4 separate regions of the Homo sapiens genome follow, and regions 1, 2 and 4 are each linked to region 3. The links are contacts of gene promoters, found by promoter capture Hi-C in human tissues and cell types (Jung and others, 2019). All regions are on one chromosome and are shown on one strand. Each heading gives the region's core, a stretch centred on a gene start or on the middle of the fragment in contact. The rest is flanking DNA. Distances are from core to core; before and after follow the strand shown. Region 1 overlaps REM2 (RRAD and GEM like GTPase 2). Region 2 overlaps TRD-AS1 (TRD antisense RNA 1). Region 3 holds the start of OR6J1 (olfactory receptor family 6 subfamily J member 1). Region 4 overlaps SLC7A7 (solute carrier family 7 member 7).

Evidence for each region. Contacts are between HindIII fragments. The study calls those that stand out against the background at their distance.
Region 1: a contact is called between a fragment that was not itself captured here and the fragment with the promoter of OR6J1 in region 3, in 1 of the 25 tissues and cell types used here (lymphoblastoid cells).
Region 2: a fragment that was not itself captured here is called in contact with the fragment with the promoter of OR6J1 in region 3 in 2 of the 25 tissues and cell types used here (pancreas and spleen).
Region 4: a contact is called between a fragment that was not itself captured here and the fragment with the promoter of OR6J1 in region 3, in 2 of the 25 tissues and cell types used here (aorta and spleen).

What each region holds. Positions count from the first base shown.
Region 1 is chr14:22,886,751-22,893,580 of GRCh38, forward strand. REM2 (RRAD and GEM like GTPase 2) reads left to right here. Exons shown (of 5, transcript NM_173527.3): 5 at 1-928. The coding sequence ends at 159. RBM23 (RNA binding motif protein 23) reads right to left here. Exons shown (of 14, transcript NM_001077351.2): 14 at 6,454-6,830. Among named protein-coding and RNA genes, the nearest start is that of REM2, 6.9 kb to the left of the region's middle. RefSeq lists a silencer at 28-357 and an enhancer at 1,588-1,687. The HindIII fragment of the contact is 3,706 bases long and covers 1,145-4,850 here.
Region 2 is chr14:22,448,258-22,455,754 of GRCh38, forward strand. The region is part of intron 2 of TRD-AS1 (TRD antisense RNA 1); the gene reads right to left. It also overlaps TRA, TRD, TRDD3, TRDJ1 and TRDJ4. Among named protein-coding and RNA genes, the nearest start is that of TRD-AS1, 31 kb to the right of the region's middle. RefSeq lists an enhancer at 1-229. The HindIII fragment of the contact is 4,427 bases long and covers 1-3,464 here.
Region 3 is chr14:22,639,202-22,646,998 of GRCh38, forward strand. It overlaps OR6J1 (olfactory receptor family 6 subfamily J member 1), which reads right to left and starts at 5,151. Exons shown (of 2, transcript NM_001348233.2): 1 at 4,897-5,151. The HindIII fragment of the contact is 14,040 bases long and covers 1-5,806 here.
Region 4 is chr14:22,794,192-22,801,876 of GRCh38, forward strand. All of the region lies in intron 2 of SLC7A7 (solute carrier family 7 member 7), which reads right to left. Among named protein-coding and RNA genes, the nearest start is that of SLC7A7, 17 kb to the right of the region's middle. RefSeq lists an enhancer at 2,323-2,392. The HindIII fragment of the contact is 4,620 bases long and covers 3,003-7,622 here.

The DNA of each region.
Region 1 (6,830 bases), core at 1,748-4,247, 250 kb after region 3:
CAGAGGCCCGATCCGGGCAGCCCCGAGGGCCCTGCGCCACCTGCACGCCGCGAGAGCCTCACCAAGAAAGCCAAGAGGTTCCTCGCCAACCTGGTGCCGCGCAACGCCAAGTTCTTCAAGCAGCGCTCCAGGTCGTGTCACGACCTCTCGGTGCTCTGAGCCGCGGTCGCCATGGCCACTGCGGTCGCCATGGTCACCGCGCCCTCCGCTCGCCCCCCCTCGCCCCGCCCCGCCCCCGTCCGGCTTCCTTGGTGGAGGCCGTCTAGGAAACCAAAAACTCCCAGGATGCCCCGGTGTGACCGCCGGGGGCGGCCCGGGGCCGCTCGGCGGCACCTCCACACCCGCCCCAACGCGTTCTCTGGAGCTTTGGGCCTCAGGGCGCCTAGAAGGCGAGGACGCAGACCTGAAGGCGGCCGGTGAGCGGGGCGGGTTCTGCTGGGTCGGGAAGAAAAATAATTCTGCAAGGTATTTTGTTTTTTATTAATTCGCGCTTGGCCACCTCATCTGTAAAGAGATTCTAAAAGCAAGATCTGGAAAAGTGCTTCGTAGACTCCTTGACGGAGTTTGCCTCCTTTGTACGCTGCGTGAACATGCCTCACCTTTAAGAGAGTCTTAAAGGTAAAGACACGAAAACACTTCCTCCAGGGACCTTCCCGAAAACGTTCTGGCTCTCATCTGGTGCGGCATGTGTCCACTTTGCCTTTAAGGAGTTCTTAAAGGCAAGGGCCTGGAAGTGCTGTTCCTGAGATGGATTCTCTTGACTTACCAGTCCACCACGGCACTTCCCCTTTAAGGTTATTAAAGGTAAGGGGTGGACAGACTTTCTGCATTCAGATAATGAGCAGTGGCAACCCCTTTTGGCCAGGGCCAGGGGGGCACCAGCAAGGGGCCACCCTTTCCCTTTTCAATAAATAATTTTTGTACTGCCTCTGTTCACTTTTGACTCTGTTCTTGGAGTCTTTGGGGAAGGAATGGGTGTTGATGGAAACTGCTGTTACCCACCAGAAAACTCAGGCCCAGAGGAGCAAGGAACCTAACTCTCTAAGGAGGCTCTGGAACTGACTTGGCCTGGGGTAGTCCATGTCATAGGGCCACAGGCCCTTACAGATAATCAGGTCCACTTCTTGCGTTTGCCGATGAGAAAACAGGCTTGGAGAGGAACAGGGACCTCCTAGAAGTCATTTGTAAATTAGTGACACAGTGGGACCAAATCTCTAGATTCTGAGCCTCATCTCCTTACCCCCACTCTATCCTGCAGGGAACAGGCTAGAGGCTACACTTAGCTCCCAGCGGTACTCAGCTTTGACTTGGGCTGGTTCAAAGTGGGGCCCATATCCACCAGGGAAGCCCATCAGCTGTGGCGTGATGGGGGTCTGTCTGTGCCTCCTCTGGCAGGGCTCCACAGCCCCAGCTGTCACCTGCAAAGCCCGTGTGAGTACTGAAACTGTCACTGCCTCCCCTGGGGACGCCCACGCCTGCTGCTGCCTGAGCCATGAGTTTGAACAAAGGGAGCAGAGGCAGCAGCTCCCCTCACCACCCCTAGACATACAATACAGCTACCTGAGCACCTGAGGGCCAGCCTCCATTCTACCCCACACAGCCTCCCAGAACTTGATGGAAAGAGGGTTGCAATGCTTCCTGAGTCCTTGTAGCTGGGGAGGAGCCAAGGGGACCATCCCAGCATGGGTACTTATAATAAGATGAATAATGGCCCTATCCTTAGGACTTTATACACTTTATCTGTTAATTCCTTAAAGACTATATAAGGTCCAGCCTGGGAAACATAGTGAGAGCCAGTTTCTACAAAAAAAAATATAAAAATTGGCCAGGCATGTGGCTCACACCTGTAATCCCAGCACTTTGGGAGGCTGAGGCAGGAGGATCATTTCAGTTCAGAAGTTTGAAACCAGCCTGGGCAACATGGCAAAACCCTGTCTTTACAAAAAATTAGCTGGGTGTGGTGTCATTCAGATAGTCCCAGCTACTTGAGAGGCTGAGCTGGGAGGAACCCTTGAGCCAGGAAGTTAAGGCTGCAGTGAGCTGTGATTGTACCACTGCACTGCAGCACGGGCAACAGAGCAAGACCCTGTCAAAAAAAAAAAAAAAAAAAAAAAAAAAAAAAGCAGTGCACCTGTAGTCCTAGCTACTCAGGAAGTGGGAGGATTACTTGAGCCCAGGAGTTCAAGGCTGAAGTGAGCTGCAATCACTGCCTTCCAGCCTGGGTGATAGAACGAGAACTTGTCTCTTTAAAAAAAAAAAAAAAAGGGCCGGGCGCCATGGCTCACACCTGTAATCCCAGCACTTTGGGAGGCCAAGGTGGGTGGATCACAAGGTCAGGAGTTCGAGACCAAGCTGGCCAATATGGTGAAACCCCATCTCTACTAAAAAGTGCAAAAATTAGCTGGGCGTGGTGGCAGGCGCCTGTAATCCCAGCTACTAGGGAGGCTGAGGCAGGAAAATAGCTTGAACCCAGAAGGCAGAGGTTGCAGTGAGCTGAGAACGTGCCACTGCACTCCAGCCTGGGCGACAGAGTGAGACTCCATCTCAAAAAACAAACAAGCAAAAAAAAAAAACCTATATAAGGTGTTACTACCTGTTTAACAGTAGAAGAAACAGAGTGTAAGTAACTTGCCTGAGGTTACCCGGTAAGCAGTAGAGTTGGGATTTCATGTCTGCTTGATACTTTTTTTTTTTTTTTGAGATGGAGTCTTGCTCTTGTCACGCAGGCTGGAGTGCAATGGTGCGATCTCCACTCACTGCAACCTCCACCCCCCGGGTTCAAGTGATTCTTCTGCCTCAGCCTCCCGAGTAGCTGGGATTACAGGCACCCACCACCACGCCCAGCTAATTTTTTGTATTTTTAGTAGAGATGGAGTTTCACCATGTTGACCAGACTGGTCTTGAACTGCTGACTTCAGGTGATCCACCCACCTCAGCCTTCCAAAGTGCTGGGATTATAGGCGTGAGCCACCGCGCCCAGCTCTGCTTGATACTTAATGATGATTTTATCCAGCTTTGCATCTGAGGCTCCCTTTCCAATAAGGATGGGAGGAAGAGAAAGAGGGGACAGCAGTCAAGATGCGGGGACACAATGGGCAGGGCCATGTGCAGTGGCTGTGGTGAAAGGTCCAGAGAAATTACATGGCTGTAGTGGAGTAAGCAAGTTCTAAATTCTGAAGACCATGAACAGAGGCAGCTCAAATTTTAAAACACAGGAAAACACACTGGGCCCATTAAGGGACCAGATGGCTGTACAGTTGGGTTGAAACCTCAGGGACATGAAGAGGAGGGGTAAGAGATGAGCATGGAAAAGAAGGTTTGGAGTCCCACTGTAAAGGACCTTAAATGCCAGGAAAAAGAGTTTGTGCCCAACTCTGTAGGCAGGGAGAGTCACTGCAGGTATCTGAATGTGGAAGTCATGATTAGGATGGTCTTTTGGGAAGAGGAGGCTGGGAGAGGTGTGTATGGATTGGAGCTGCAGAGGCAAGTACTGAGGAGCTGAGTTTAGGGACCAGTTAATAGTGATACATACAGAGGATAATGAAAGGCCATCCTGAGGGGGGTGGCAGTGGGAAAGGAAGGAGGCATGGGTTTGAGCATCAGAATCAATGGGACTTGGCAACTTAGTGGATGAGTATAAAGAGAGGAAAAAGTTGTAGGTGGTGAGAGGATGGTGCAGAACTTGGAGTAAAGGGGCAGAGGAGGTAGTGAGAGTAAGGAGCTCCATTTTGGAGACACTGAATTTGAGATGCTAGAAGAACATCTATATAGAGTTTCAGCAGCTCTCTAGAGTTGAATCTGAATCTGAAATTCAGAACAAGTTGGGACAAGAGAAACAGATTTGAGAATAATTACCATAAAGATAGTAGTAGAAGAGCAAGGAGAAAAGGTGACCTGTGCAGTCACATAGGGCCCTAAGCTTAGTTTAATGTTCTGCTGTTATGTTCTTAAAATTCTTCGAACAAGGAGCCCTGTATTTTCATTTTGCAAGGGGATCCACAATTATACTAAGGGAGAAGGTGCAGTACAGGCTGGGATCCTTACCCCAGACTACTGATGGAGTCTGCGTCTTGTGAAATGGTACATACAATCTGATGTATTTGTGTAGTCATACCTGTGTCTGAGAATAGGGTTCATGAATTTCATCAGATTCACAAAAGGGTTTGTTACAGGCCAGGCACAGGATGGCTCATGCCTGTAATCCCAGCACTTTGAGAGGCCGAGGCGGGTAGATCACCTGAGGTCAGGAGTTCGAGACCAGCCTGGCCAACATGACGAAACCCCATCTCTACTAAAAATACAAAAATTAGCTGGGCATGGTGGCACATGCCTGTAATCCCAGCTACTTGGGAGGCTGAGGCAGGAGAATTGTTTGAACCCAGGAGGTGGAGGTTGCAGTGAGCCGAGATCGTGCCACTGTACTCCAGCCTGGGCAACAGAGTGAGATTCTGTCAAAAAAAAAAAAAAAAAAAAAAAAGATGGTACTGGCTGCTTCTGGAAAGGGGAACTGGGTGAGTAGAAGACCAGGATGGGAAGCTGACTTTTCATTGTATGCCCTTTTTCTTTTCTTTTCTTTTCTTTTTTGAGACGGAGTTTCACTCTTGTTGCCCAGGCTGGAGTGCAATGGCACGATCTCACTGTAACCTCCGCCTCCTGGGTTCAAGCGATTCTCCTGCCTCAGCCTCCCGAGTAGCTGGGATTACAGGCATGTGCCACCACACCCGGCCACTTTTGTATTTTTGGTAGAGATGGGGTTTCTCCATGTTGGTCAGGCTGGTCTCAAACTCCCAACCTCAGGTGATCCGCCTGCCTCAGCCTCCCAAAGTGCTGAGATTACAGGCCTGAGCCACCGCGTCCAGCCTGTATGCCCTTTTTCTACCTTTGGAAATTTTTTTTTTTTTTTTTGAGACAGAGTCTTGCTCTGTTGCCCAGGCTGGAGTGCAGTGTGGCACAATCTCAGCTCACTGCAAACTCCACCTCCTGGGTTCAAGCGATTCTCCTGCCTCAGTCTCCCGAGTAGCTGGGATTACAGGTGCCCACCACCACGCCCAGCTAATTTTTGTATTTTTAGTAGAGACGGGGGTTTCACCATCTTGGCCAGGCTAGTCTTGAACTCCTGACCTCATGATCCACCCACCTCAGCCTCCCAAAGTGCTGGGATTACAGGCGTGAGCCACCGCGCCTGGCCTACCTTTGGAACTTTTAACTGTGTCATTTAGTACCACTTCAAAAATGAAACGAAATAGGCCGGGCACAGTGGTTCACGCCTGTAATCCCAGCACTTTGGGAGGCCAAGGCCGGTGGATCATGAGGTCAGGAGTTCAAGACCAGCCTGGCCAAGATAGCGAAACCCCATCTCTACTAAAAACTACAAAAATTAATCAGGCGCAGGGGTGGGCACCTGTAATCCCAGCTATTCGGGAGGCTGAATCGCTTGAACCTGGGTGGCAGAGGTTGCAGTGAGCTGAGATCATGCCACTGCACTCCAGCCTGGCGACAGAGAGAGACTCCGTCTCAAAAAAAAAAAAAGAAAGAAACAAAATAATTTAAAACAAAGCCTTAGGGGTCCAGAGAAAGAAGAGGGAACAAGGAGATCCTGGGGATATATAGATGGAGAAGGTGGAGAAGCAGCTGCCAAAGAGGTAGTGGGAGAACTAGGATTGAGCCTGTTGTGACTGCTGCCAGAGGAGGGGTTTCTAGGAGAGTATCACCAATGGTCAGATGTGGCCAGAGAGGAGGATGAGGAACAAGAAAGGCCCAGTGCCTTTTACGTGGCAGAAGCTTAAAACATGTCTTTCGTGTATGGAAGACCATGATGGCAAGACCTCCCCCACGAGGGGAGCCACACACCATGAGCCTCCCTCCCCCAACTCAGCCAGTCCCATCAGCCCGACCCATCTGTGTGTTCCCTCCAGACGCCTACAGGGAATAGCTCAGAACAGACGGAAGCTGAAGCCAGGCTCCCGCCAGACTTGGGAGAGGTGAGGCCTTCTCTGAGAGCCAGGCCATTCTCTCTTTCTCTCTCAAGGCAAAGTAGAGCCATTGATCTTGGCTGGGGTGAGAGGTCAGCAGAGGGCACTGGGACCTGAGCTGCCATGCCAGGTAAGGTCCTTTCTGTCCTCATGCATCTCTTAACCACTGCAATTTTGTCTTGGAGTCCGTGTTCCCTTACCAGCCCCTGCCCAGCCCCTGCTACTCCCACTCCCCTTTGCCCACAAGACCGCCTCATTGGCCCAGAGCATAGACTTTGTGTGCTCTCCCCTGAGGGTCAGAGGAACGGGGGAGTCCTGCATCTGGAAATTTTTCCACTCTGGGCCTCTGCCTACAGATGAGCTTTTAGGCCGTGCTGCATCTGAGCCCTCTAGAGAGACTGGAACAGGGGCTCTTCTCTTCTGAAAGACTGCCGGGGTCATACGTGGAAGTCCTCTGGGTTAAACCCTCACTCCCAGGAAGTTCACACACACACATCTTTTTATTAATCTAATATAGTTTCAATCCACATCAATCTAAGTAAATTTTCCTGGACATTTTAATCTTTCATCCACAAATGCTAGAAGACATTTTGTTTCTCTCAAGTACTAAACATCTGCAATATGCCAATCAGTGTGCCGGGCCCAATGGGGAAAACAAATACAAATAAGACACAATTTCTGCCCGTCAAATAGCTTGCAATTAAGCTGGGGAGATGGATGAGGTGATACAGCACAAAACAGGCAAAATAGCAGCAAACAATACCACATTCTATCTAACTGGGGGCTACCTCATGTGCTCCAGGAATTCTGAATGGAAGAAACAGTAAATTTGGAAGACATATTTTAGAAACTGGGCCT
Region 2 (7,497 bases), core at 1-2,500, 190 kb before region 3:
TGAGGAGAGGTTTTGAGAAGGCAATGACTGGGTCAAAACTCTGAGGTCAAACAAGATTAAAACTGAAAATCATCCGTTGAATTTGGCCAGAGCTGCTGCCTCTGATTGCTCAGGTTGTGCCTTCACAAGGGCATCTGGCAGAGAGGAGAAGTGGGGCTAAAATTCAATGCGTGCTCTGCCGCCAGCCAAGGCCCTGATGTGGCGTTGCATCTTCCGGAAAGGGAAGGCCTTTTATAAACCACACAAAAGTGCAATCTGTTCGCCAAGCTTGAACCCAAGGGGCTATCTCTACATTCACCCAGCAGGGCTGCCTTTTCTAAATCGCACAAAGCACCATATGGGCTACTGGCCTGAATTTAGCAACTGGGAGGAGGTCAATGGAGGGGACACAATTTTAAATTTACATGAAAACCCTTTGTAAACTGTATAACACTATTCAAGTGTAAAGCAGGAAGAGGTGATTCAGAAGCTTAGCAGGTGACAGGAGAAATTACACTGACCACAAGCCTTTTCTGCCTAACCCACAGCATGTAGAATCTCCATGAGACGTTTAAGTACCCGACAAACTCCTCAGTGGGAAACCATTTGAGGGCAGACTGGCCAGAAAGCACAGATGGGAATGGATGTGATTATTTCTAAAAGTCCATTCTAGTCACAAACCCCAAGGCAGATCTAGCCAGTGGGGCAGAAGAGCCCCAGACAGAAGCACCTGAGCCAGCTTGGCCTGACCTAACTGTCAGGACCCTTTGATCTTGCTGGAGCTTGACTTGGAGAAAACATCTGGTTCTGGGGATTCTCAGGGGCCATATAGTGTGAAACCGAGGGGAAGTTTTTGTAAAGCTCTGTAGCACTGTGACTGGGGGATACGCACAGTGCTACAAAACCTACAGAGACCTGTACAAAAACTGCAGGGGCAAAAGTGCCATTTCCCTGGGATATCCTCACCCTGGGTCCCATGCCTCAGGAGACAAACACAGCAAGCAGCTTCCCTCCCTGCTTTGGGGCCTGGAAGGGATAGCAGGAAGTTGACTGGACCAGGGAGATGACCACAGCTGCTGACCTCTCACTCACTGCTGTTCTTCCTTGGGTGAAACTGGCATTTCTACATTTTCTTACAGCACATTTGGGGAATACAAAAAGGCCTTTCTTAAAAACTATTCTTGTCTTGTTTTCATGTTGATTCTATTGCAAAAGAGAGTTATATGAGCCACCTCATACGGAATTTCTAAATTCAAACCTCTAGAGAGATTTACCCAAGTGCTTTGCTTTGCAGTTTGGGAGGATGGATTTGAAGAGAGATTGATTTTTTTGTAGGCAATCACCGGCCACAGTTGCTCATTCTAAAGCTGACTGCTCTGTAAATCACCCAGTGCTTCATGCCACCCTTTCTCCTCTTGCTGTGCCACACGTTATCTGCCTTTAAAGCAGCAGCACTGGTGTCTGTAAAGGCCTTAACCCTGGAGTAGTCATGGAGCCAAGACCCACCCCTTTGACAGTGCCAGCTTTCCAACACAGAGAGCTGAGTATGGGTCTAGGAAGTGAGAGCAATGTAAAACAATAGAAAGCAACAGTTCAGAGCACTGCATCAAGTGTACTGTGCTGGAAAGGTCCGCCATAGGAAATATGGTCCTCCATACTCCTCAGACAACAGCCTTCCGAAAGCAAACCTGTCCCTACCTGCAGATGATTAACCATCTATGAACCGGCTGGGTAAGCAACAAGTGCCATCTTTCATGGAGCTGAGCCTTAAAGATCCTCCAGTCCTAAAGCTGACGGGAAGAAGGTAGGTGGGAGCAGCGCTGAGGTTTTTGGAACGTCCTCAAGTGCTGTGACACCGATAAACTCATCTTTGGAAAAGGAACCCGTGTGACTGTGGAACCAAGTAAGTAACTCATTTATTTATCTGAAGTTTAAGGTTAAGGCATCCTCCATCTAAGGAGGCAGAAATAATCCTGAAATGGGAAATGGGTGAAATAGCTAGCATTTAGGAGGACTCCTGGGAAGAGGTGAAATATGGTTAATCCTTTCCATAGGAGAGGAGCAGAAGGTGTCTGTAAAAAAAGAGTTTGGGGCATATGAAGGGACCCTTCTGGCTCAGAGGAAACAGAGAACTCTGCCCAGTCCATCGAATTTGGGTCAGGCTGTAGAAACCACAGAGTCATTGGCCCAACTCCCTGAGCAGAGTCAGAATGGACACAGAATGAAGCTGACTTGAGTCCAGGTGGTTTTACCAACGTGATTCCAAACGTTCTGACCTCCCTTATGCCAAACACATCCTCCTGGAAGAGCTCAGAACTGAATCCGTCTCCTGGGCATGGAGGGTGGGGCGAGCGCAAGTAGTCCCTGGTGTTGCGATATTTCTCTTTAGAAGAAAATAACCTGTTTCAGACATTTGTTTCTAATTGTTTGAGCTGCAAATGAAAACTAGGTTACTAGTGAGAAATATGGGACATTCTGGTTCCCACTGAGACCAGATTCCAAGCAGGACAAAGTGAATGTGTAGTGCTTCCAACTAAGAAATGCTTTGAAGTCTCCAGGACACAGCCAGGAGAGTTCCCTACCACTCACCAGTGTTCATCGTTTTTGCAAAGAGTATATGGTGCCAGTCACTTATTAACAGTTATGCAAGAATCAATGCTAAGGTTGTTGAAGGATTGTGCTCAACACAGAAGGCATCTTTGGTGTCCTTTCAATGACATTTGAATTCGACCGTGTCTTGCTAAAAAATAAAATAAAATAAGACAGTGGTCTCCACCTGGCAGCAGATTCCAGTTAGATAGTACATATTAATCTTAAGTAAGAAAATGTAATAAACCAATACAAAAACCCATTTCGAAGGTCCTAGGGAAGTCTAGCAATAGGGGTCAGTGGTCCCAAATCTGCCCAACCAGCTGTTGGAAAAGAAACAGCATGCCCTGCCCTGGCTGGGACTTTGGCACTCAGCTCAGGTTTTTCAAGGTAAAAGAAGGCTCTAGAGAGATAGGGTGGTGATGGTGGGCTCTTCTCAGAGACCAAATGGGGACAAAGCAGTTCCAGGCATATGCAGGCAAGGAGGCTGAGGAAGGGGAAGGACAGGCATGAGCAACCCAAGACCTCACACACTGCAGGGAGAAAAGGGGCAGGGGCCCTGCCGTCAGGGAGAAAGACACCCAAAGTTGTGCTAGTGGAGTCAGTGCAGAGATGTTCAGACTTTTTTAAAAAATCAACATCTTAGTAAGATTTTGAAATTTTAACTAATTTGGGCCTTTGCCTTTAGACCTTATTATCCTTAAAATTTTCACTAAAATAAGTTTATCCACAATTCCAACAAAGCTAAAGACTGATTATCCTAATTTCCCTTTGTTTGCCAAGTAAGGGATGAATTAAGTTCCTCTGTTTACCCATTTACTTGGTCCATATTTCCCTAACTGCGGAGTGCACAGCACATATTTTCAGATGGAGAGACGTTCTTTTTATTTGCATGGATCTATCTTTTAATGGCTATCAGAATAGTACAACTAGGCTATCAAACCCATGTGATTTCAAGTTTCCTTTTAATTATATTTTAAGTTAAAAAGTGAATAAATTTTTTTAAATTATTAAGCAAATTATGACAGATGACTATGACCAAAAAAGCGGGGGAGATGTGCTTAATTGAAGTTTGGGAAGTGCTGAACTTCATATTGGTGCATTTCATCAGCCTTTGAAGTGAAAAAGTAAGGGGTATCCAGAGGGGGCACAACCTAGAATATCTTTGAATGGCAGCTTCTATTTTTAAGCTACCAACATTGGATTAAAGAGACTGCACTGCAAACCCAGGGCCTTTATCTTCTCAGAAGCCTTTTGATGCTTTTTTTTTCCTTGGGAGCTTCTTTCAAGTTCTTACTTACGGAGCTCCTGGGTAGCACAAAACTAACAGAACAGGTCTATACAAACCCACAGCTGTAGATCCCACACTTTAGTCCTCTGGATACAGTAAACCTGGAGAGACCACTTAGCTTCGTAAAACAGAACAGAGAAACAGGACAAAACAGCATGGAATAAAGTAATGGAAACGTGTACTTCTATGGTAACAACAGCGGCAGTGGGGAAAAGAGGCATGGTCGTTGGGAACATCTGCGTGGAAGTGGGCCATGTGATGGACTTTGAATGCAATCTATTATTGTATGTCACAATTATGTAACTACCACTTTTTGAGTGCCTACCATTTATTAGGCCACTGGGCTAAGTCCTTTAATGATTATCACTTCACTCAGTCCTCACTACGATCATGTGGAATTGAGGTACCATGACTTGCGTTTTATGGATCAGGAAACTGAATCTTAAAGGGGTTCCTCAAGATCACACAGCTTAGTAAAGTCATCATTTGAATCACCTGCTTGATGCCAGCATCTGTGCTCTTAAGAAGTCTGCTCTTCCATCAGGGCTGCAGCTAGACTAGGGCATGTGTGGAGGTTTTTCCTGCCTGGCCCAGCCTCTGCCTCAGGTCTCTAATGAGCTCCTTTTCAAGCTGAATCAGAAACAACAGTTATGCCACTTCCCTTCCAGTGCCATCCCCATCACTTCTCTCACCAAGGAAGAACTTCTGAACCCCCGCCAAAACCAGTTACCCAAAGCAGCATTCCCCTTCCCCAGGAGGAGCCAGGTGAGGCCCATCTCTCACATTACACCCCTGGAGACCCAGGGTCCCTAAATACAGAAAGGTCCAGACGATGATCAGAGCATCACTCTTTCCCTCAAGAAAAGGAGTCCACATAATTCTGGCCTCATCAAAATGTTTCTCAGATTCCAAAAGATGACCTTCCCATTCCTCCAGGCCCACTAGCCCTTGGCCTGGCATCTGGCACTCCCTCTCACTCCCAGTCAGCATCTCCCAGAACAGAGCCTTTGCACCTGCAAGTCCTTCCACCTGGAGCCATTTTCTCCCAGGGACTCACACAGTTTTCTCCCTCCCCTCCTCCAGGTCTCCACTCAAATGTCATTTCCAGTGAATCCTTTCCCTACCACCTCATGTCACTCTGAAGACCCCTTTCCCTGCTTTATTTATAGCCCTCATGTCTACTTGAATCTTTATATGCTCGTTTACTGTCTGTTTCCCTTGCTCTGTGAGAGAAAGGACTTTGAGTTGTTTCTTACTGCACCTATAAGTACACTGAAAGCACTAAACAAACATTTGTTGAATGAGTGAATGAATAAATAAAGGAATGAATGAATCAGAGAAAAAGTCAGCTATGGTATAAAGCAAAAGAAAAGAAAAATGAAGGGAAGCTGGTAACCTACAGAGCCGAGCCTGAGTCCTGGCTCTGCAACCCATCACAGGTCTCTGCCACGAAGTGCCAGGCACTGTTCTGGGTGCCAGGGAATCGACATGAACAAAGCAGGCATGAACTTCTGCCATATTGGAGCTTATTTTCTAATGGCAAAAGACAGATGGTAAACTAAATAAATAAATAAAAAATATATACAGTGCGTTAGGGTGGTAATAAGCCCTGAGAAGAAAAATAAAGCCGGGAAGGAGAATAAAGAGGACTAGTGGGAGGGACCAGCATGCAGTTTTAAACAGAAGAGTCACAGAAGGTCTCACTGGAAAGGTGACAGTGGAGCAGAGACCCGAGGAGGTGGTAAAGTGAGGCATGCAGACCTCTGGAGAGAGAGCACTTCCAGGCAGAGGGGACACAGGGCTGCCTGGGGTGTGTGGCTGGAGGAGGGGAGGGAGTGATGGGGAGAGAATGTGAAAATGAGGTCAGATTGGTGATGGGTTGGGGAGAGGGTGGCTTGTAGGCCACTGTAAGGACTACTGCTTTTGGATTCGAAAGGGAAGATTGGGGAGTAGAATGGAAGTCACACGTAACCTAGAGAAAAGATCTAGAGAGACAGAAACCTGAATACCAGTCCTAACCCACGGCCCTAAGAAGTGGGCACCCTCTTCATATCACATAACACCAAAAAATAGCTTCTGTTCTTTTTCAGCAACCTGTCCCAACAATCCTTCCTGCTTGGGAGCTCTGTTCTTAGTGCAATTACATTCCCCACGCTTCTAGTAAAATGTATCTTCTCTGAGTTTAGCCCTAATAAACATTCTAATAATTACATCGAGTCTCTCTAGTTCACAGATGCTGTATCTAATCTTATAACCTATAATACGGAAGATGTTATCCTCACTTCGTAGAGAAACCAGATAAAGCTCAGTGAGTTTAAGGAACTTGGCCAAGATTACACACTTGGAAAGGGACAGAGTCAAAACTAGGTTTTGGATCTTCTGACATCCTTCTACTTTACAACGACTAGGAACCACCCTTCATGTTAGTGATTCTCCAACTATCATCTACAGTCTTTTAAGGATTGTAAACTGATCCGAAAAATCCATATTCCCTCCTTGGTTTTTATGAGTGACATACAGGCAATCTCATAGATTCTGATGTTCACGTATAACAGAAATTAATTTAACTGTCACTTCTAAGTGTGAGAGTGTCATTGAAGCTTGCTAAAATTTGATATGCATGAATGTGTTATTAAAATGGATGGAAAAACTTAATTCTATTTTGTACTAAGCAGTTTGGCTGCTGCACAATACTTGGCAATGATGCAAAACTCTCAGATATGAAATAAATTTCCCCTAAAAGGTTGGAATGCATGGTATATATAACCTGCTAGGTCCCTGCCTCACCTAAGTGTAGCCCGAAGGTGGAGAACCACTGCTCTATGACCAACGTTCCACCCTTCTTTCCTCTTGATCAAACCAAAAAACATCTTTCCAGTCTATATTCATTCTCTCTTATTTGAGCACAAATTCTGTCAGATTGTAATATGGGCAAAAGCTTGGATTTCTATTTGATGCTAGAGTCACCTCTTGTTCCATCCTGAAGGACAACCTCTAAGACGGAGGAGAAGAGGCTAGGCCAGATGGGACAGAAAATCACATGGGATGAATATCATGTGACTTGGCAACTGGGGCTAGGGTTGCCGTAAAGGGAAAAGCAAGGTAGTTTTTGGATTAGGTATGTCAGCTGTGCCAGACCCCTGATCTTTGGCAAAGGAACCTATCTGGAGGTACAACAACGTAAGTAACCTACTTTTCCTTCTTATGACCACTATGTTTGGCAATTACATTTGTTAAATATTTTTCTAAGTCACCAGGTTAGGAAGCAGTGCTCCAGTAGGTAATATAGCAAGGGATGGCTTGAGGAACAGGAACTGAGTTTCCGATAAAATCCAGGATGGCGTCTGTGCTTCAGTGAGCCGTCTTGATCCATTGTCCTTCCTAGAGAGTTTCTATTCCCTCTACCTGGCTCCAGAAAGCTACCCTCCTCAACATCTATGCATCCACCATGTACAGATCTAGGCCACCACTGTGATCAGACTCACATGACAGCACTTCGGGGGGTGGACACAAGGTGAAATGAGGAGCACGCTGAACCAGTAAATCAGAGGCCAAGTTCCAATCTGTCCAATGCATTAACTGACAATGCATTAGCTGACAAACTCTGTGACTTAACTGCACTGAACTATAGTTTCCCT
Region 3 (7,797 bases), core at 3,901-6,400:
CCCGGCAGCCACCCCGTCCGGGAGGGAGGTGGTGGGGGGTCAGCCCCCCGCCAGGCCAGCCGCCCCGTCCGGGAGGTGAGGGGCGCCTCTGCCCGGCCGCCCCTACTGGGAAGTGAGGAGCCCCTCTGCCCGGCCAGCCACCCCGTCCGGGAGGGAGATGGGGGGGTCAGCCCCCCGCCCGGCCAGCCGCCCCGTCCGGGAGGTGAGGGGCGCCTCTGCCCGGCCGCCCCTACTGGGAAGTGAGGAGCCCCTCTGCCCGGCCACCACCCCGTCTGGGAGGTGTGCCCAACAGCTCATTGAGAACGGGTCAGGATGACAATGGCGGCTTTGTGGAATAGAAAGGCGGGAAAGGTGGGGAAAAGATTGAGAAATCGGATGGTTGCCGTGTCTGTGTAGAAGGAAGTAGACATGGGAGACTTTTCATTTTGTTCTGTACTAAGAAAAATTCCTCTGCCTTGGGATCCTGTTGATCTGTGACCTTACCCCCAACCCGGTGCTCTCTGAAACATGTGCTGTGTCCACTCAGGGTTAAATGGATTAAGGGCGGTGCAAGATGTGCTTTGTTAAACAGATGCTTGAAGGCAGCATGCTCCTTAAGAGTCATCACCACTCCCTAATCTCAAGTAATCAGGGACACAAACACTGCGGAAGGCCGCAGGGTCCTCTGCCTAGGAAAACCAGAGACCTTTGTTCACTTGTTTATCTGCTGACCTTCCCTCCACTATTGTCCCATGACCCTGCCAAATCCTCCTCTGTGAGAAACACCCAAGAATTATCAATAAAAAAATAAATTTAAAAAAAAAAAAAATTTACACTGCTAGTGGGAGCATAAATTTATATAATTGCTTTGGAAAATAATTTGTCATTACCTTGTAAAGATGAACATTCACATACTCTGTGACCCAATAATTCTACTCCTAGGTAGAGAAACTTGCACATATGCCCCAGGAGACAAACAAGAATATGTATAGGGAAGGGGGAGAGGGGGAGGGAGGGAAAAGAGAGAGGGAGGGAGGGAGGGAGGGAGGGAAGGAAGGATGGAAGGAAGGAAGGAAGCAAGGAAGGAAGGAAGGAAGGAAGGAAGGAAAGGGGGAAGGGAGGGGAGGAGAGGGGAGGAGAGGAGAGGAGGGTAGAGGGGATGGGAGGAAAGGAGGAAGGAAGGGGGAAAAAAGAGAAGGAGGGAACAGTGTCCAAAGACAGGAGAATAAATCATGATATGCTCACAGAGTTGAATATACAATAAAGAAATGAATAAACTTCAGCTCAACCAACAGTGAGAATGTATTTTTTTTTTTTTTTTTTTTTTGGAGACAAAGTCTTACTCTGTCACCCAGGCTGGAGTGCAGTAGTGGTAGCATACAGCCCACTTCAGACTCAGCCTCCCTGGATCAAGTGATCCTCCCACCTCAGCCTCCCAAGAATCTGGGATCACAGGTGCATGCCACCATGCCCAGCTATTAGGTTGTTGCAAAAGTAATTGCGGTTTTGCCATTACTTTTCGTAGCTATGGGATCTCACTATGTTGCCCAGGCTGGTCTCAAACTCCTGGGCTCAAGCGATTCTCCTGCCTCTACTTCCCAAAGTGTTGGGATCATAGGCATGAGCCACCACACCCAGCCTCTTCTTGATATTTTCAGTATTTTTTTTTACAATGAACAAATATTCCTTTTATATAAAAGAAGTTAAGCTGGGCATGGTGGCTAACGCGTGTAATCCCAGCACTATGGAAGGCCGAGGTGGGAGGATGACTTAAGGTCAGGAGTTTGAGACTAGCCTGGGCAACATGGTGAAACTCTGCCTCTATGAAAAATACAAAAATTAGCCAGGCATGGTGCCATGCAGCTGTTGTCCCAGCTACTTGTGAAGCAAAGGTGGGAGAATCACCTGAGCCCAGGAGCTTCAGTGAGCCATGATCACACAGCACTGCACTCCAGCCTAGGTGACAGAGTGAGACTCTGAAGAAAGAAAGAGAGAGAGAGAGAAAGAGAGACAGAGAGGGAGAGAAAGATAAGAAAGAAAGAAAGAAAGAAAGAAAGAAAGAAAGAAAGAAAGAAAGAAAGAAAGAAAGGAAGGAAGGAAGAAAGAGAAGAAAGAGAGACAGAGAGGAAAGAGAGAGAGAGGAAGGAAGGAAGAAAGGAGGGAGGGAGGGAAGAAAGAAAGAAAGGGGGGAGAGAAGAAAGAAAGAGAGAGAGAGAGAAAGGAAGGATGGAAGGAAGGAAGAGAAAGAAAGAAAGAATGAAAGAGAGAGAAAGAAAGAAAGAAAGAAAAAGAAAGAAAGGAAGGAAGGAAGGAGGGAGGGAGGAAAGAAAGGAGGGAGGGAAGAAAGAAGGAAAGAAAGAAGGAAGGAAGAAATAAAGAAAAAGAAAAAAGAAAGAAGGAAAGAAAATTATTCTAAAAGGATATATATATATATACATAGTTGGATTGAAAATGTATATTAGCAAACACATATTGAGTGCCAACTATGTTGTGGGGCCTGCGATTGATGAAAGGTTGCAGAGATGGTAAAAAAAATTGCATGCCCTCGCACAGCTTTCAGTCTAAAAGAGATGTGAAGAAACCTGATTTCAGAAAAATCACAGAAACAGAGGAAAAATTAAGGGACGGCAAAGTTTTTTCATGGATATTTGTCCTGGGCCATTAGTCTGGAAAGCAAACCAACTACCAGGAAAACTGATAGATTCCAGGGACAAGGTCAAATAGGGCTTCTATACCTAGGAAGGACTCTGGATAGCAGAGGCCACGTAATTACCAGTGACTAAGAAGAATATGGATTGGACTAGGAAAAACAAGAATAATCTAGTAAAGGAAGAGGACTGCAGAAATCCCGAGGACTGAGTTGACCTCTGCCCATCTAAGCTGAGTCAGAACATCAGCCACTCCTGCACAGAACCTGTCCTCACGACCTGCCCTACCTTCCTATAGCCTTGGCACATGGACAGTCTCTCCAGACAACTCACCACATTTGCATTGCCAAGGATCTTTTCTTTCTTAACAGCTTTATTGATATATAACTCAAGTACCATACATTCCACCCATTTAAAATATACAATTCAATAGCTTTTAGTGTATTCACAAAACTGTGTGTCCATCACCACAATCAACTTAAGAATATATATATATATATATATATATATATATATATATATATATTTGAGATGGAGTCTCGCTCTGTCACCCAGGCTGGAGTGCAGTGGCACGAGCTCAGCTCACTGCAACCTCCACCTCCAGGGTTCAAGCGATTCTCCTGCCTCAGCCTCCTGAGTAAGCTGGGATTACAGGCGTGTGCCACCATGCCCAGCTAATTTTTGTATTTGTAGTAGAGATGAGGTTTCACCGTGTTGGTCAGGCTGGTCTCCAACTCCTGACCTCATGATCTTCCCGCCTTGACCTCCCAAAGTGCTGGGATTACAGGGACAAGCCACCATGCCTGGCAGATTTAAGGATATTTTAATGATCCCTCCTCCATTCCCTGGAAACTATTTTTCTACTTTCTGACTATGGATTTGCCTATTCTGGACATTTCATATAAATGAATCATACCATATGTGGTCCTTTGTATCTAGCTTCTTTCACTTACTATAATATTTTCTTTATTTTTATTTTTAAATTTTTTTTAGAGACAGGGTCCTGCTCTGTCAGTGAGGCTGTAGTGCAGTGGCATGAAGATAGCTCACTGCAGCCCCAAACTCCTGGGCTCAAGTGATCCTCCTGCCTCAGCCTCCCAAGTAGCTAGGACTACAGGTGCACACCATCACACCTGGATAATTTTTTTTTTTTTTTGAGATGGAGTTTTACTCTTGTCACCCAGGCTGGAGTGCAATGGTGCAATCTCTGGTCACTGCAACCTCCGCCTCCCCGGTTCAAGCGATTCTCCAGCCTCAGCCTCCCAAGTAGCTGGGATTACAGGCGTCTGCCACCACGCCCAGCAGATTTTTGTATTTTTAGTAGAGACAGGGTTTCCCCATGTTGGCCAGGCTGGTCTCGAACTCCTGACTTCAAGTGATCCATCCACCTCGGCCTCCCAAAGTGCTGGGATTACAGGCGTGAGCCACCGTGCCTAGCCTAATTTTTTTTTTAATTAGAAAATAATTTTACTTTTTTTATTTTTTGAGACAGGGTCTCACTCTGTCACCCAGGCTGGAGTGCAGTGGTGCAATCATAACTCACTACATCCTCGACCTCCCAGGCTCAAGTGATCCTCCCACCTCAGACTCCCAAGTAACTGGGACTACAGGCACACACCACCATGCCCGGCCAATTTTTGTATTTTTTGTAGTGATAGGGGTTTTGCCATATTGCCCAGGCTGGTCTCGAACTCCTGGGCTCAAGCGATCTTCCTGTCTTAGCATCCCAAAGTGCTGAGATTACAGGTGCAGGCCACTTACTATAATATTTGTAAAGGTTCATCTATGTTATAGCATGGATCATTGCCAAGGATCTTAAAGAACCAATGTAGCAGGAGAAAAGGCCACAGCCCCAAGAAGAAGCCCTGACCCCTGGCATGGCAGAAACACACACACACACACACACACACACACACACACACACACACACACACACAGAGAGAGAGAGAGAGAGAGAGAGAGAGAGAGAGACAGCAGTTACTAAATGTAGATATATGCACAGTCTGTAAAATCTAGAAGAATAGTATGGAGGATGAATTTGGACTTGGTCACCAAATCTGGAAATGGTAGGATGAGGGATCAAGACTTAATTCATTTAACTCTCAAAATACATCTTTGCATAAGGTGCAACTGCACCCACTGGAAAATCATTTCCTCACATCAGAAATATTAAGAAGCTTAATGAAGGCAAAGATACACACCTGAGATTATAACAGGAACAGCTGCTCCCAGCCAGCCCCCAAATGCCAAACGATTGGTCTGCACTCACCTCGGCTAGGGTTGCCTTATGCCACCTCCACGGCTCAGTCTGTTCACCTGGGATTTGCTGCCACCTAGGATCTTCCACGGTAATTATCTTGACCAAAAAGCCACAGTGCATTCCACATGAGAGCAGCAGTGTTTGACAGGTGAAATGAGCCCTTCCCAACTCATGTGGATTGTTGCCTTAGCTGTGACCTCTTGTCCGACGAGCATGCACTTGTGTTGTAGACAGCTGGAAGGTACATGTTGGATTTTTACACTGCTGAGGAAGTTACAAGGTATGACATCCATTCCAGCATAGAGAGGTCTACAAATCCTCTTGCCCTAATCCTGAGTGTGTGAGGAAATCACCTTCGGTTAAGCATTGACCAGCTGCACCTCCCACACTGTCTACACAATCTGATCCAGTTGGGGAGAGAAAAGGGGCACTCTCCACTAAGCTCCTGGATGGTGCTTTATTCTCCTCTCCTGCTACCATCTTTCCTGCACCCTCTCCAGTCTTCTGCTCAGCCCAGTCTTCTGGGTGCTTCTTGATTCCAGAGAAAATGGGAAAAGAAACACTGTGTTACCTGATGGACAACAGCCATCAACCTGCTTCTTCCTCTGTCCCCTCAACCCAACGTGCACTACCACCACCACCATCCCCATCATATTTTTTTCAGAGACTGGCAGGCCAAGCGTCCCAAGGACTAAACTTCCTCTAGGGTTACTGCAGGATAGTCAAATCCTGTTGAGGGGTAGCTGGTGCATGAGAAAACTCTGGACTTGAAGCCAAGAGTCTGGGTTCAAGTCCCACCTGTGCCTTTTACCATTCTTGAGACTGGAAAAATTGCCTCCATTTTCATACTATCTGCAAATGAATCCTCATGTGACAAACAGCGGTAATGCTCTTTTCCTCCTCTTCCTCATGAGGTTGAGAAGCACAAAACGGAAAATAAGATAACTCATATGATAATCGATCATTGCCAAGGATCGTGAAGAACAAATGTATGATAATTCATATGATGTGTGAAATCATAAAACACCATATTGCTTTATTTTCTAGAACCCCTCCTATTCTGCAATACTGGAAAAGAACAAACCTTATCTTCCTTGTCCCTACTGAGATATTGATCATCCCACCCTAGAGGGAAGAATACTGTCCCTTCTGGCTCTGGAATACATCTCATCAGGCCCATGCTTCTGCCTTAATCAACTATTCTCCCCTTGGACAGCATATCTGGTTGGCTACAAAGTGTGAAGACAAAGGGAAGATGCTTCTCTACATGGGAATTTCGGTTGCCCAGGATTCCTGGAAATGAAGAAACTACTTCCTGTCCTCCACCATCTGCACTCTACAGAGGAGTCAGTAAGCTGGAAGGGATTCAGCGGGAGGACTCAGAAATACTCACATTTGCCTAAATAAGGTAGAGGGGGCTGGCCCCCAGCATATCCTGCCCACACAGCTGCCCCAGGCTTCCGTGCTGGGCGCTGAGGCTTGCGTTGCTGCAAACAGACTCTGCACTGTCAGGGCTGAAGGGGGCATACTCTAGAAGGGTCCCATGTTTGGACCCCACTTGGGAGGGTTGGGGTGGGATTGGCTCAGGTGAGAGCATGCACTTTCTGAGAAACCTCCAAACATGGGGCACTCCTCAGGGGCACATTACGAAGCTGTCCCTGAACACCAAGCCTGAGTCTGATGCCCCTGAGGCCCACTTAGGAAAGGATGCAAACCTAAACATCTACACTAACAAGAACTGGGAACAGAACACTAGCCAAGATCAACACCCCCAGGCCTATCTCAGAGAGCCTCACAGCATACAGTCCTCCATCCACCCCCTCTCCAGCCCCACTGTGACAGTTCCATCCATCCCTACCACTCCATTTACCCAGGACCCTCCTCTTCAACATCCTAATACACTGTGATCAATATGCCAAAGCTTCAGTAACCTTGCACTATGTGAAACAAAAGGTCCCACACTGCATAGCCTGGCACTCAAGACCCCCTAATCCCAGTCTCCCTTGAATTACCGCCCAGACTCAGCTCCTGTCTTACACATCACCTTGCGCATCTTTTACTTCGGTTGAGCCACTCTATTCACTGTGCCCCACGCTGGCCCTCACTTTCTTACTGCACACTCGGGCCCCAAGTGTCCTACCATTGGGACCATCTTCTCCACCGCCTAGTCTCTAGGCCCTACTCTTGTCCCTTTTCCTAGCCTAAGCTAGGTTCTCCCTCTTTAGATATCCTTTTCTTGCACTTGGAATCAGGAATCCACAGTGTAGAACTGGAGTGTTTTTAACCTTTTTTAATTTAAATATAACACATGTACAGAAAAGTATACAAATCATAAGCTCAATGAATTATCAATAAAGTGAACACATTCATGTAACCACCACCCTGGTGAAGAAACAGAATGGTACTAGCACCCCAGAAATCCTTCTCAAGCTCCCTCCCCACATCCCAGCTGTAACCATTATCTTGATTTCTAACACCATGGATTAGTTTTGCCTGTTTTGGAAATTCATATAAATGAAATCATCTAATAGGTCTTGTTTTGTGTCTGACATCTTTTTCTCAACCTTATAGTTTTGAAATTCAATCATGTTGTGGTGTGTGACTCATTTTTATTGCCATATATTTCATCATTTCATTTGTGGTTATTTAGCCTCTGGGCAGATTTTTAAGTTCCTTGGGAACAGGGATTTTTTTCATAAAATTATTTTTGAATCCCCATAATGCCTAACTGGAAAAGCAAAAGTTGCTCAGTATATATGAATTTTAGTCCAAAAAGCTTCTAATTTCAATCTCACATCATATACCCCCATGAACAGGCAATAGTATCTAACAATTTCAGCAATTTCTTTTTCTCACATCTCATACCCAATTCATTAGCAAATCCCACTGGCTCTACCTTTATATATATGT
Region 4 (7,685 bases), core at 4,063-6,562, 160 kb after region 3:
TCATTATTGCAATATCCCTGTCTTGAAGAATTGGCTCTGTCTAGGCAGTGGGCAAGGTGAACCCCTTGGGCAGTTACACCTCTGGCAAGAAGACACACCAAATGCAATCCCTGTGGGTCACTGGATCAGAGTCCTCCCGCTCTCCTTCCTGGAACTCAGTCAGCACTTTGGTCCCTGTGGCTCTGACCACTCTGAGGGAGCAAGCAGGCAGTTTGTACCAGGAGGGTCTTATAGTAACAACCCCGTGAGTCCCTTCTCCAAGCCGTGTAAATCCAATCCTTATTGGTTTGCTTAGCTAGGGGTCAGTTCAAGTCCTCAGGTACCAGATCTCAAGCCTGAGTGAGCATCAGTACCACCTGAGGAATTTGTCGACCCACAACTTCAGGGCCCCACACCCCAGAGGTTCTGATGCAGGAGACCTGAGACAGTTTCGCAGGCTAATCTGAGGATCTGCTTCTCTGGGTGTGTTTCCTTAGGTAATCACCTACGGAAATAACCACACACAGAGCAGCTGTATCAGAACAGTCGCAACCCTTTGCTAACTCAAGGCTCCTCTATCCTGGCTGCAAACTAGCATCACTTGACGAGCTTTAACAGTCCAGTGCTCAGGCCCCACCCAGACCAATGAAGTCAGAAATTCTGGGGTGGAACCCAGGCATCGGCATGTTTTTAAAACTCCCCAGGTGACTCTGAAGCATGGTGACAATTGAGAACGGCTTTTCCCACCTCTAGTGACACAAGACCCTCATCAATTCTCCTCAAAAGCAATTTTTCTGCTTCCTTAATTCTCGTTCTCCAAGCCAATTCTCATCTCATTCTTCTCCCCAGTGGTTCAGATTTATGTAGTCAGGGAGTGGGAGTGATGAGTATTGTTTTCTTTCTTTCTTTTTTTTTTTTTTTTTTTTTTGAGACAGCGTCTCACTCTGTTGCCCATGCTGGAATGCAGTGGCACAATCTTGGCTCACTGCAGCTTGGACCAAATGGGCTTAAACAATCCTCCCACCTCAGCCACCTGAGTAGCTGGGACTACAGGCATGCACCACCATGCCCAATTAATTTTTTTTTTTTTTTTTTGTAGAGACCAAGTTCTCCAGACTGGTCTCCTGAGCTTAAGCCATCCTCCTACCTCAGTCTCCCAAAATGCTAGGATTACAGGTGTGAGCCACCGTGCCCAATCTGAGTATTGCTTGCTTGCTTTCTTTCTTTCTTTCTTTCTTTCTTTCTTTCTTTCTTTCTTTCTTTCTTTCTTTCTTTTCTATTCTTTTCTTTTCTTTTCTTTTCTTTTCTTTTCTTTTTTAATTGAGACAGAGTCTCACTCTGTCGCCCAGGCTGGAGTGCAGTGGTGCAATCTCGGCTCACTGCAAGCTCCGCCTCCCGGGTTCACACCATTCTCCTGCCTCAGCCTCCCGAGTAGCTGGGACCACAGGCGCCTGCCACCACACCCAGCTAATTTTTTGTATTTTTAGTAGAGACGGGTTTCACCATGTTAGCCAGGATGGTCTCAATCTCCTGACCTTGTGATCTGCCCGCCTCGGCCTCCCAAAGTGCTGGGATTACAGGCGTGAGCCACCGTGCCCGGCCTTGTTTTCTTAATTCTCCAGATGATTCCAATCCACAGCCAGAGTTAGGACCCACTGCTGCCCAGCATCTTCCGCAACCTCCTCTAGGCTACCTGCCCAGCTTCTTCTGAGGCAGAGAGAAAAAGAAAGGAACATAGAAACATAGAACATAGAAAGGAAGAGAGCAAGGATGAGCCCCCAAAGGGACTTGATGATCAAAGCAGCATAAAGGTCTACCCCTTCACTGCTGGTCAAGAGTTTGTTCCAAAGTTCACAACAAACCCACACTAGAACCCAAGGCTCTGATGAAAGCCTATTTCTTGAGGTGAATATGGGCCAGAAAAGGTAAGTTTCTTCACCTCCACCCTCAGATGGCTCTTGGGAAAAGCCCTCTGAAAAAGGCAACTAGCTTCCAAGTAGAAGGTTCAAAGGGCAAAAGTCCGTTGGGGGGCCCAGCATCTGACTGTTCCACCTCATTAGCCACAAGTACATGAGATCAGTCATTCTGGTACCAGGAGAAGCTGCACGAGGACACCTGGCCAAAGCTCTCAGACACACAGAGATCCAAAGTCCTTCACAGCCCACAGCGGCTCTGGCAGACTCAGGGTAAGCTGTCTGCCCCCTTCCCACAGCAACCCTCAGCCCCCACCAGCACCCTGAAAGGCAAAAGCACGAAATACCCTTCTCAGCCAAGTTGAACCTGGAATCATATCTTCTGTTCATTCATCCAGCCAACATTTATTGAAGAACCCACTACATGCAATTCACTGTGGCCACATGTGTATGACACGAAGAATCTTTGCCTGATCCCTGAAGAACAGTACTCTGTAAACAAAGAGCCCTGAACTGCCAGGTACTGCTGACTCACTGGTACAGGGGACATACTGAAGGCATAGATGGTAAAAATGTCCTGGTAGTGTCCTGAATGGCAAAACAACTAGGTCTCAGTGTGGGCAAGTGTAGGTAAGGCAAGAACAGTCATGTCCACCTGTGAACAGTGGGCCAAAACACCTTGGCTCTGAGGAAAGGACAGTCGGGTGGAGCTGGACTTCTGGACACCTATCCTCTTGCTGAGAGGAAAGTTCCACCTCTCTTGCAAAACAGAAAGAAAAGGCTCAGCCCTCCTTTCTGATCCCTGAGCTATTGTGAAGTAAAATGTAAACTGCTTTTAAGTCATCCAAAGACAGCATGCGGAAGGTAAAGCTTTTAGAAATCAATAAGATGCATATGATATGAATATAACTTGCAGTAATAGATACTATTTTTAACTGACAACTGTGTGCCAGGTCACTATGTACTTACACCTATCTTCTAATTTAATCTGACAGAGAGTAAGTTTTATTATCTTTATTTTACACTTGAGAAAACTGAGGTCAGGCAGTGACTAGCTCCAAAGCCTACATCCATTCCACCACACCACATACCTCCCTAACTGTATGCAAGAATGTGAGACGGGGAGTGGGATTATCTCCCCCTGTGGTAATGGAGATGCCTAGAACTTCAGAGCACTGGGGCAGTCCACGAATTTCTCCAAGAAGTCAGAATAAGCAGCTTCAGGAGGTGCCATCTGCACACCTCTCTGTTTGGGAAAAGCAACCATTTCTACTACCCTAGACAGGACAGTGAGGCTCCTTCAAAACTCAGAATTCCTTCACTCACTCACTCATTCATTCATTCATTAAGCTTATATTGAGTACCCACTGTGTTCCAGGCCCTGTGCAGGCTCTGAGATTAAGATCCAGTCTCCAGCCTTCACTCAAAAGTGGACATTGACAATTACAAGAATCAGTTGCTATGAAAGTCACTGAGAGGCAACCTATCTACCCACACGTCACTGGAGGAGTGAATGGGGTGCAGGCAAGCACCAGGATCACTGTTATCTGGACTGAGTGCATGGAGGCTGCTGCTGGGGTGGGGGAGGGGAAGCAATATTCCTGACAGAGAGGGCAAAACGTTATTACCCTGACAATGAAATCAGCAATGAATGAAGTCAACCACCCGTATAAAAAAACCTACTTAAGCAATAACCAGTAAATGATTTCAAGGTCTATTAGTAATACCAGACTATCTAGGGCTGTAGTTCAACAGCTCTAAAGGTAGACTATGCCTGCCAAAAGACTGCAAACAACTGGCAGGAGCAGAGACTCTGTGTTTGCTCTTTGGAAACTGTCATGATTTGAATAGAAAAAGATGAAAATATGGTACAAATATAGATCACATTTCTATGAGGTAGGGACCCCATTTTATAGAAGAGAGAACTGAGGGCTGGGCACGGTGGCTCATGCCTGTAATCCCAGCAATTTGAGAGGCCGAGGAAGGTAGATCACCTGAGGTCAGGAGTTTCAGACTAGCCTGGCCAACATGGTGAAACCCCATCTCTACTAAAAATACAAAAAATTAGCCGGGCATAGTGGTGGGCACCTGTAATCCCAGCTACTCGGGAGGCTGAGGCAGGAGAATCGCTTGAACCCAGGAGGCGGAGGTTGCAGTAAACTGAGATTACGCCACTGCACTCCAGACTGGGCAACAAGAGTGAAACTCTGTCAAAAAAAAAGAAGAAGAAGAAGGAGAAGGAGGAAAAGGAGAAGGAGAAGGAGAACAAGAGGAAACTGAGGCTAATAAATTTGACCTAGCATTGATTGAATCCTGCCTGATTCCACGCTGTTCACCACCATGCACCAGTGCCTTCCAAAGGGATAAGGGTATCCCCTACACTGTTCAAGAAAAAGAAGTCTGACTCAGGGCACCCAATCATTACAGCCATGGAGAAGGCATCATTGTAGGGTAGAGATATTTCATCCAACTTTTCCAGAAACATACCTCAACCAACCTAAGGCAGGCTTAACTCTTTTTCATAAAATCGTCCCTCAACCTTGGTCCTTTCCTCTAACAATCACCCTCCATGCTTTCAGAATCATTCATCTGAAGAGCATGTCTACATTCCTTCCCGTTCCTGGGTCTCTACAATGCAGTCTGAGATGTTGCAACTCCTTCCTCTTTCACCCTGCAAAAGTTTTCCTTTGACCCTCTGAGTTGCCAATTCCAAATGACATTTTATTCCTTATTTTAAACTTAATAGCTCCTCCAGAAAGGCTATTTTTGAGTGTAAACCTGCCACCTCTGGTATGCTGCCCTTGCTCTGTGCTCTCACCTCCCCAATTAACTACACTGCATTAGAACAGTGTACATATGTCTCTCCCACCCACGAGAGCTGTGTGAGGGCAGAGAGTGGATAACAGTTATCCTTGTACCCATGGGCATAGTCCTGAACTAGACACACAGTAACACTTAATACATTTTGCTGGGTGAATAAATGATATTTCTGAAACCTGATTTCACCCTCACTGCCCTGAAATTTCATTGCCTTAGGAGAAAGCCCACATGAAAAGCCACCAGTGACCTTCATATCAATAAATCCAATCAACTATACTCAATCTTTACCTAGCTTGACCTCTTAGCAGATTGGACACAGGTAGTCATTCATTCCTTCTCAATTCACTCCCTTCCACTCACCATCTTCCAGGTTTCCACCTATCTCTCTAGATGCTCCTTCTCCATCTTTTCACAAAATACCTATCCCTCAAATGTGGGTATTCCTCAGAATGCTTCTAAGCCCCTTTGTCCTCCCTTTCTACATCTTGTCCCAAGGTCATCTCATCTGTTCCTGTGGTTTCTTTTTCTTTTTATTTTTTTCTTTCTTTTTTTTTTTTTTTTTTTTTTTTGAGACAGAATCTTGCTCTGTCACCCAAGATGGAGTGCAGTGGAGCTGTCTCGGCTCACTGCAACCTCTTCCTCCAGGGTTCAAGCGATTCTCCTGCCTCAGCCTCCAGAGTAGCTGGGACTACAGGTGCACACCACCATGCCCGGCTAGTTTTTGTATTTTTAGTAGAGACAGGGTTTCGCCATGTTGGCCAGGCTGGTCTCGAACTCCTGGCCTCAAGTGATCAGCCCACCTCAGCCTCCCAAAGTGTTGGGATTACAGGTGTGAGCCACCGCCCTGGCCTGTTCCTATGGTTTCAATAACCATATATACAATGATGACTCCCAAAAGTATATCATCAGCCCAACTGTCATGATTCTAGATATATATGAATATTCAACCACCTACTGGACATTACCAGGCACATCAAACTCAACATGTCCAAAACTGATTCCATCAATTTCTCCCAAACCTACTGCACCTTCGGTGTTCCCCATACAAGTAACTGGCGTCACCATCCACCCATTTATGCAAGCCAAAGACCTGGGCATGTTATTGTCATCAACAACTTCCACTCATATCTACTCATAGTCCAAGTCTTAAGTCTCCCTGTCCCCAAAACATGACTCTAGTCCAAGCCACCATCATTTCTCACTAGGATCATAGCAGCAGCTTCCCACCTGTCTCCCAGCTTTCAATCCTACATAGAAAAACTAATCTTTCTTAAACTCACAAATTCTAAAATCTAAATCACAAATGCCACTCTTCTGCTTTTAAAGGCCTTAAGAGTTTTCTCATTGCCTTAGAAGACAGCCCACCAAACTCCTTAATATAGTTGGTGCAATAGATTGGAGTTTTCCAATATGCCTCAACGTCTCCCATCCCATATTCCTTTCTTACAATGTGACTTTGACACTCTACCCATCAAGAGGCAGGGTCTGTACCCCTCTTCTCGAAACTGGATGGTCTTCTGTGAATGCCTCTACCTATAGAGTATGACAGAATTGACACCATGCAACTTCAGAGACTAGGTCATAAAAGGCAATGCAACTTCCACTTTGGGTGCTACAACACTCATTCTGGACGCTTTCAGCTGCCTGCATAAGCAGTCTGACTGCCCACGAGTCACCACGCTGTGAGAAAGCTCAACACAGTCCATACGGAAAGACCACATGGAAAGACTGACACAATTTGATAAAGAAGGCCGGGTGCGGTGGCTCACACCCGTAATCCTAACACTTTGTTTGGGAGGCCGAGGCGGGTAGATCACCTGAGGTCAGGAGTTCAAGACTAACCTGGCCAACACGGTGAAACCCCGTCTCTACTAAAAATATAAAAATTAGCCGGGCGTGGTGGGGCACGCCTGTAATCCCAGCTACTCAGGAGGCTGAGGAAGGAGAATTGCTTGAATCTGAGAGGTGGAGGTTGCAGTGAGCCGAGATCGCGCCACTGCACTCCAACCTGCACAACCGGAGCAAGACTCCACCTCAAAAAAAGAAAAAAAAGAAGCCCAGATTGTCTGCAACTTCCTCAGCAACCGTTTTTCCAGCTCCTGTCACCATCTGCTGCAACCACATGAGGGACCCTGACCTAGAACTGTCCCACTAAGCCCTTCCCAAATTTCTAAGCCACAGAAATCATAAAAAAAATGACTACTGTTTTAAGACACTACGTTTTAGACTATTTGTTATAGCACAATAATAACTAGCACAGCTTATAAAGCTTTGAACAACCTATGCCTTGACTCTATTTACCTCTGCAAGCCAACTCTCAACCTTTTCTTCCTGAAATTCAACACTGCAGCCCACCCTGAACTCCTTTCAGTGCCTGAAAGGAGCACTTCTGGCATTTAGGTTTTCATACATTCTGTTCTTGCTGCTTGGAACACTCCTCTTCTACTCTTGATTAATTCTTCTTCGCCATTCAGGTATCAGCTCAAACTTCTACAGGAATGGTTTCTAAATGCCTAGGTTAGGACTGGTCTCCTCCTGTGCCTTGTTCTACCTTGCAAATCACAACACCATCACAATCCATTAAAACCCTGTATCAGAGGCCAGGCACGGTGGCTCACGCCTGTAATCCCAGCACTTTGGGAGGCCGAGGCAGGCGGATCATGAGGTCAAGAGATCAAGACCATCCTGGCCAACATGGTGAAACCCCGTCTAAAAAATACAAAAATTAGCTGAGCATGGTGGTGCATGCCTGTAGTCCCAGCTACTCAGGAGGAGACAGGAGAATCTCTTGAACCTGGGAAGCAGAGGTTGCAGTGAGCTGAGATTGCGCCACTGCACTCCAGCCTGGTGACAGAGCGAGACTCCGTCTCAAAAAAACAAAACAAAACAAAAATCCCTGTATTGGGTTGCCCATCCTGACCCCGGCATGCACCCATGCATGCGGTCACACACACCCACGCACACACATAAAGT